Linked DNA regions of Homo sapiens: region 1 is linked to region 2. Evidence: promoter capture Hi-C in 16 types of primary human blood cells and fetal thymus (Javierre and others, 2016). All regions are on one chromosome and are shown on one strand. Each heading gives the region's core, a stretch centred on a gene start or on the middle of the fragment in contact. The rest is flanking DNA. Distances are from core to core; before and after follow the strand shown. Region 1 overlaps MAP2K5 (mitogen-activated protein kinase kinase 5). Region 2 holds the start of C15orf61 (chromosome 15 open reading frame 61).

Region 1 (3,579 bases), core at 453-2,952, 260 kb after region 2:
CAGAAAAATGCAGGGATTCCATGGCTTATGTGGGAAAAAGCCAGCCCCTTGCCAGTCAGAAAGGATTGGTGGGACTGCAGCAAGAGGGGAGACAGCGATAATGCAAAGATGGTAGAGAAATTTCCCTTAAATGTCAATAATCAAATGGAAGGATGCAAAAACATAAAAATCAGACCCTTAAATTCAGGGACAAAGACAACCTAAGATGAGAGCATTAAGATGGGGGTTCAGGTTGGTTTTGCTATTCAATTTCTGTGTTTAAATATTTTTAAATAAAAGGGGTATGTGAGATATTACTGTATAGACCATTTGCTTCTCTAAACCACAAGGAATTCCTTCTGAGGAATTAATCATCCTTCAGAGTTATTTGGTAGCTAAGGTCAGGATGTGACTTAGCCGGGAGAACCTCCATCACATCCCTTCACTGTGTAACCTCAGCCAACTCCCCATCCCCTCTCCACTTCAGTGTCTTTTCATCTGCAAAACCGAGGGGGCAGCCCTTGACCAATGGTCTGTGACTTTAGGAAGTCAGAACCCCAGAAATTACATCCGAAGTTATCTATGCATGTGGAGATGTTTCTTTTCATCCAAAAACAGGAATTCATGACTGCTACATTTTTCAAAGGGGACCCTGACCCTCAATGATTGTTAAGCTCCCTTGCTTCTGTCCTTTAGAGTTACTTGGCCAGGAGCTGACTGTAGGGAGGGAAGTGTTCACTCAGCGGGAGAGTGCTTGCTTGAGGGTGGGGTGGGGTGCTTTCTATGGGGTTCAGCAGGGCTTTGCACCAGCTGTCAGGCAGCCCTTTAACTTCCCTGCCTAGCCTGATTGTGGGCCTTAACTTGAACGGGGAAGGTGTGGGCTGTGGGCACCCACACAGTTACAATTTGGGCTCAGAGTACGGTAGATCTTTCTATGCATTTAGAGTGTTTCCAGAAGCTTTCAGTGTCTAAGCTCTATTTAATGGAATCTATGCATAGTAAGTAATCAGGTCAGAAGAAGCAGCATCCCGGTTTGAGATCAATCGCTGGCTAATACTTTATCTAGGCCACTTTATTATCTCATGCTGATCTGATTCCCATTCTCCCCCTCCTTTGTAGCATGCACTTCGGCTGTGGTAAAAGTACGTATCACATACATATTAAAAACATATACCCATTCTATCTGTATGTAAATGCGTGAGGCACAGCTGGATATTGCAGAGGAGTTTGATTTACTAATAGTTATTATCTGTTCTAGCTGTTCAGTGGCAGCGAGAATTTCAGAGAAACAAGCTGGCGAAGAAATTTTCTTTATGCTGTTACTATACTGCTTTAGTAATTGTTTAAAAACATGGGTTTTCTCCTTAGGTTCTAGTAATGCCTGTTATTTTGTGCATCTCCTTGTACATTCCAGAGTAGGACATCCTTTAAAGGCATTTAGCATTTCCTCAGGTTTGGTTTTCAATTTAGGCACCTAAAAAGAAACACAGGATGCAGTTTGCAATTGAAATTTGACATTTTGCTTAGACAGCAAGTAAATAGTGGCATTAGAAATACAACAAGTTGGCATGGGTCCTAGAAGGCGGGGTATCAGTTAAAATCAGAATAGCGCTCTTGGATTTTTTTCCTTCATGTCATCCCAGCAGCTGCAAACTTGAAGGCATCTCATTTCTCAGCTAAGGCTTTATGTATAAGAGGTGGTAATGTTTGGGGGCTAATAAACACCAAACTGCTCTAGAAAAATCTGTTTAAACATTTAATTACTTACTAAGAGATGTTAACTTGTTTAACTCCTCTAAATTAAATTGTCACTGGTAGCTTTTCTGCTTTTCCAAACCTGATTGTAATTACATTTTCAGATAGTATGGTTGGTTGTTCTCTCAATTAATCAAGGTATATGATAAATTGCACATCTGCGTGGTCCCTTTAAAAATCAGGGTAACCATGATGTTAGATTTTTGTCTCTCCAACACTCAAATTCCAGTGTGACTTTGGGCTTCACACCAAATGGCTTTGTTTCATTGTTAGACCCAAATCTTCTGATCACTGTGAAAGACAAAATGCACTGGACAATTAAGAAGATGATTTTATTTAGGGCTATTGCAGTAGGGAGAGTGTTTATTAATGAGGAATGGCTCAAAGAAAAGGGAGGGTTCTGAGGTCTTATGAAGGCAGGTAAACAAGGGGGTCACCAGCAAGTCTTAGAGAAGTCACGAGGAAAGATGGAAAAGGATCTTACCTCTGTGAGAGCAGGGTGATCCTTTGCGGTTAGCAGAAGGGTAGGGGGATTTCTTACCTGTTACTGTTTACTAGAAGCACGGGGCTCAGATCAATTCAAAATGATCACCACATTCTACTAAACATGCCAAAGATAAGTTTCGGTTTACTTTGATCCGGGGCTTACCTGTGCCCTGAGCGCAAATATGAAGAAAGGTGCATTTCCATAGCCCCCTTAGAGAGTGCTCATCCACCCTGTGCTTGCAAAAATCTAAGCTTTTTAAAATACTAATGATGGTTAATAAATTGTGAACTTGGATGTAGTTCACTACAGTTAGGTATTGCCTGTGTCATATAAAGTGTGTTTTAAAATGAACCTTTAGGGCCAGACTCCTAATGTGTCTGGCCACTCATTCTTGTAAACATCATTTTGTTTTCAGTTGTTCATTTGGAAGTAGCTCATTAGCTATGCCGCCCAGAATTTGCAGTGAGAAATACTGGCTGGGATTGTAACTTCAGCTGAGTATTTCCATCATGCACAAAAGTCATCACAACAGCAAGGGGGCCCCACGTAGGGTCCAGCTGACAACCATGGAATTTTTTTTTAAGTTCTGAAGGCCATTAAAATCATCTGTTTGTGTCTGCTTATAAAGAGGAACCCACTAGTAAAGAAGTTGATTTTAGCTTTTTAATTGCATATAATTACATCGGCAGAATCACTGTCTGGATACTTGAGATCGCACTAAATCAGACAGCTTTAATTTGAATTTTTGATGACACATTAGCACTTCAGCAAGAACAGAGAGATTATAACCCTAAGAAAACAGGCTTTGTTTTTCCATAGATGTGACCACTTAATCTTTTCACAAGACTTTAGCAGATAAATATGTGTGTGTATGTATATGTCTTTATATGCATGCGCATAGCAAGAGAGATATAGATAAAGTCTGTCATTCCTTGATCATGGTGATCTGACAGTTTTAATCTCCCAGTTAAGCATAGCTTTTTTCCTCCATCAGTCAAGTCAGATCTCTTAGTATGATGATGACTTGCCTGTTTAAGATTGTAGTTATTTGAACTCATGTCTCTAATGCCTCTTTCGTGTTTTATTGGACTGTCATCTTCCTAGTATCTTGTTTCAAGGCACAGTGAAGCTGTGTAGCATTCATTGAGCACAGGAAGAGTTTGGTTATCTTGGATGCAGTAAAGTGGATCAGTTGGGCTGCTCTTCAGTGCCGTGCCAGATTTGCGGCAGCGGGAGGCTAAGGTGGGTCTTTAAAGTATGTTACACTTTAGTTCCTCATTGGCCATGACTCAGCTCACTAGAACTTTCTGTTATTTGGGTGGTGCCCTCAGCCTAAAAGAGCCTCCTCTCCCCTCCCC
Region 2 (3,633 bases), core at 860-3,359:
AATCCCAACGACTCAAGAGGCTGAAGTGAGAGACTGGCTTGAGTTCTGGACCAGCTTAAGCAACATAGTGAGAACCCACGCCTAAAAAATAAGTAAAATAAAAAGTTAAAAAAAGTTTGAACTTATGCTTAGTAATAAAGCATAAGTTATTTTTGTTTTTTTTGTTTTTTTTTGAGACGGAGTCTCGCTCTGTCGCTCAGGCTGGAGTGCAGTGGCACGATCTCAGCTCACTGCAACCTCTGCCTCCTGGGTTTAAGTGATTCTCCTGCCTCAGCCTCCCGAGTAGCTGGGACTACAGGCATGTGCCACCACGCCCGGCTAATTTTTCTATTTTTAGCAGACACAGGGTTTCGCCATGTTGGCCAGGCTGGTCTCGGACTCCTGACCTCAGATGATCCACTGGCCTCGGCCTCCCAAAGTGCTGGGATTACAGGCGTGAGCCACCGTGCCCGGCCTAAAGCATAAGTTTTAACCAACTTTATATGTTGGGGACCTTCAACAGATTTCGTTTGAAAAAGGACTCCACTCTTTTTCAAAATTTAATTTGGTCAGGTGCAGAAGCTCACACCTGTAATCCCACCACTTTGGGAGGCCGAGGCGGGCGGATCACTTGAGCCCAAGTGTTCAAGACCAGCCTGGGCAACATGGCAAAATTCCACCTCTACAAAAAATACCAAAAAAAGCAGCCGAGTGTAGGTGGCACACACCTGCAGTCCCAGCTACTTGGGAGGCTGAGGGTGGGAGGATCTCTTGAGCCCAGGAGGCAGAAGTTGCAGTGAGCCGAGATCGAGCAGCTGCACTCCAGCCTAGACAACAGTGAGATCCTTTCTAAAAAAAAGAAAAGAAAAAGAAATTCTATAAAGTTCAAGTTCTATAAGGTAAAGTTCAACTTCAAATTCTGTAAGGTAAAGTTCAAGATTCGGCATATGTTGGTGGGTGCTCAATGTTCAATAAAAACTGGGGAATAGGCCTGGTGCAGTGGCTCACGCCTGTAATCCCAGCACTTTGGGAGGCCGAGGCAGGTGGATCACGAGGTCATGAGTTTGAGACCAGCCTGGCCAACATGGTGAAACCCCGTCTCTATTAAAAATACAAAAATTAGCCAGGCGTGGTGGTGCACGCCTGTAATCCCAGCCACTCGGGAGGCTGAGGCAGGAAAATCACTTGAACCTGGGAGGCAGAGGTTGCAGTGAGCTGAGATTGCACCACTGCACTCCAGCCTGGGCAACAGAGTGAGACTCCGTCTCAAAAAAACAAAACAAAACAAAACAAAAAACTGGGGAATATAAAATTTCGCCATACTATCCTACATCCCCCTTGAGTTTTTAGCAACGATAGTAATTGTTATATGATGCTTAACGCGTAATTACTGTACCTCATTTACATAAGGTGGTTTCAGACACATCATCTTGTTTATGTATGGCCTCTCCAAACAAAATGAGTTTAGGACAAAAGAGGAAATCCTTTTCTAAAAGCAGTTTTGTCCGTAAGTTACTGCCTCAAGAGGCCGCAAAGTTTGAGCAAAGCTTTTCCGAAAGTAATGGATTGGTAATGGGTGACTGAGGTCCACAAAGCTCGATAAGAGGCTCCTGGTCCGTCTACCAGGTTCTTAGAGGGAGGTGCCTTTGTGTGTTCGGACGCTGCACTGAGACACGTGAGGTTTTTAAATAAACTTTTGATTTTGAAATCTCTGGGACTAATTTTAAACAGTGAACCCGACAGCGAGGACCTACACACAAAAGTGCTCCCGGCCTTACCAAACAACGCAGACCCGGGGTCACGCCTCGTCCTGTTTCAACAACAACACCCAAGGGCTTCCCTGGAGCCCAGGGCGTGGGAGGGAGACTTGGGTTTGAGTTCTGCACCTTGCGGAGGTGGTTAGTTATTTAATTGTCTTCCACCTGAATTTTCCTCAGGCCCAAATTGATGAGACCTCCCCGAATCCCTCCCCTGCCCGAGTTACTAATGACGGCGTGAGGTCACACCTGGCCACTCAAAACCAGCTCCTTGACGCAGGTGACCCTCCGCCTCGCGCAGCTCACGCTTCCCATCCCCCGGACTCCACCCCCAGCGGGAGGCCACGGGGCCGCTGTGCGCACGCGCCGCCGCACACCGGGGGCTCTCGGGCACCCGCGCGGCGCCGGTTGGCCTTCCCGGCGCTCGCCCGGGGGCGCGCTTGCGCGCCAGCGGCTGCGGACACCAGCCTGCGTCCCCGGCGCGGCGGGCCATGGAGGCCCTGAGGAGGGCCCACGAGGTCGCGCTCCGCCTGCTGCTGTGTAGGCCGTGGGCCTCGCGCGCCGCCGCCCGCCCCAAGCCCAGCGCCTCGGAGGTGCTGACGCGGCATCTGCTGCAGCGGCGCCTGCCGCACTGGACCTCCTTCTGCGTGCCCTACAGCGCCGTCCGCAACGACCAGTTCGGCCTCTCGCACTTCAACTGGCCGGTGCAGGGCGCCAACTACCACGTCCTGCGCACCGGCTGCTTCCCCTTCATCAAGTACCACTGCTCCAAGGCTCCCTGGCAGGACCTGGCCCGGCAGAACCGCTTCTTCACGGCGCTCAAGGTCGTCAACCTCGGTGAGTGGCGACTGCCGCGCCCACGCGGTGAAGCCCGCCCGGCCGGGACGGCCCCTCAGCCACCGAGCACGTGACGAACGCTCGCAGGCCGGTAGAGTCCCGCGGGAGTCAGCTCTGCCTCCCGGCGCCGGCTTCGCCTGGGGTCCTTTGTACTCCTCGCCCAGGGGGTCCCCAGCTTGCTGAGCTCCTGGCACCCGAAGCCGTTCGCCTGCTGCGGGCGCGTCCTCGGGCCTAGGGAGGGGCGGGTCGCCCTCCTGTCCTGCCCATGTTAACCAGAGTAGACCCCTGGCCTGGGCAGTAAGCCAGGGGGCGTCAGGAAACGCCCCCTAGAAAGTGGCTCTGAAGTTGACATCCGTCCTACTGCATGGCAGGACTCATTCCCGTGAACATCACTTTGCAGCTGCGTTTATGTTGCAATAACTGGAACTACTCTTTTAAGTTTCTTTTGTTTTCTTTGTATGAATTCCCGGCAAGTTCGTTTTACTAAAAGCACCAAAGGTTTTCACCAGACATAACAGCTTCCTGAGGTGCTAGGCCTAAAAGATTTTTAAAGATCTTTAATATTTGTATATTTTCATGGAGACGCCCTGAGGATGTTTACTGTCACTAGGTGTTTATTTTCTTTTGGTTTAATGACAGAAGAGGGAGGTACGAACATGGACATGGGTGTATCTTTTATAGGTCAGGGGAAAACAGAAGGCCTCAAGATGTTTTGAACTTACTAATAGCTGGCATAAAATCAATCTAGATTTCAGTGATTCAAAATCTAGCCATGGAGCTGAATGAACCATGTTACCCAGCCAGGTTTTTAAAGCCAGGATTAAAACTAAACCCTGCGCAGCCGTACTACTAATACTATTACATAATCTGATCGTCCATTAAGGTTAAAAATAGTCTGTGTATTTGTGCTTATAATAACACATATGTCAGTCGTGGGCTTTTTGAGCCGTTACTCCACTGGACTGTCCTGTAAGGAGATAATTGTTTAGCAACGTGTTATCCTTTAAAAATGCCTCTTATTATTTGGCTGATGGACTGTATAGAGCATGCCCACTACTTT

What was found. Contacts are between HindIII fragments. The CHiCAGO score rates a contact against its expected background, and 5 or more counts as called.
Region 1: a contact is called between a fragment that was not itself captured here and the fragment with the promoter of C15orf61 in region 2, in 3 of 17 cell types (naive B cells, total B cells and fetal thymus). The highest score is 7.3, in naive B cells.

Annotation. Positions count from the first base shown.
Region 1 is chr15:67,776,419-67,779,997 of GRCh38, forward strand. All of the region lies in intron 21 of MAP2K5 (mitogen-activated protein kinase kinase 5), which reads left to right. Among named protein-coding and RNA genes, the nearest start is that of SKOR1, 47 kb to the right of the region's middle. The HindIII fragment of the contact is 1,535 bases long and covers 936-2,470 here.
Region 2 is chr15:67,519,022-67,522,654 of GRCh38, forward strand. It overlaps C15orf61 (chromosome 15 open reading frame 61), which reads left to right and starts at 2,110. Exons shown (of 2, transcript NM_001143936.2): 1 at 2,110-2,573. The coding sequence starts at 2,228. It overlaps IQCH-AS1 (IQCH antisense RNA 1), which reads right to left and starts at 2,823. Exons shown (of 6, transcript NR_040052.1): 1 at 2,498-2,823; 2 at 1-81. RefSeq lists enhancers at 1,697-1,776, 2,417-2,536 and a silencer at 1,957-2,306. The HindIII fragment of the contact is 4,154 bases long and covers 1,525-3,633 here.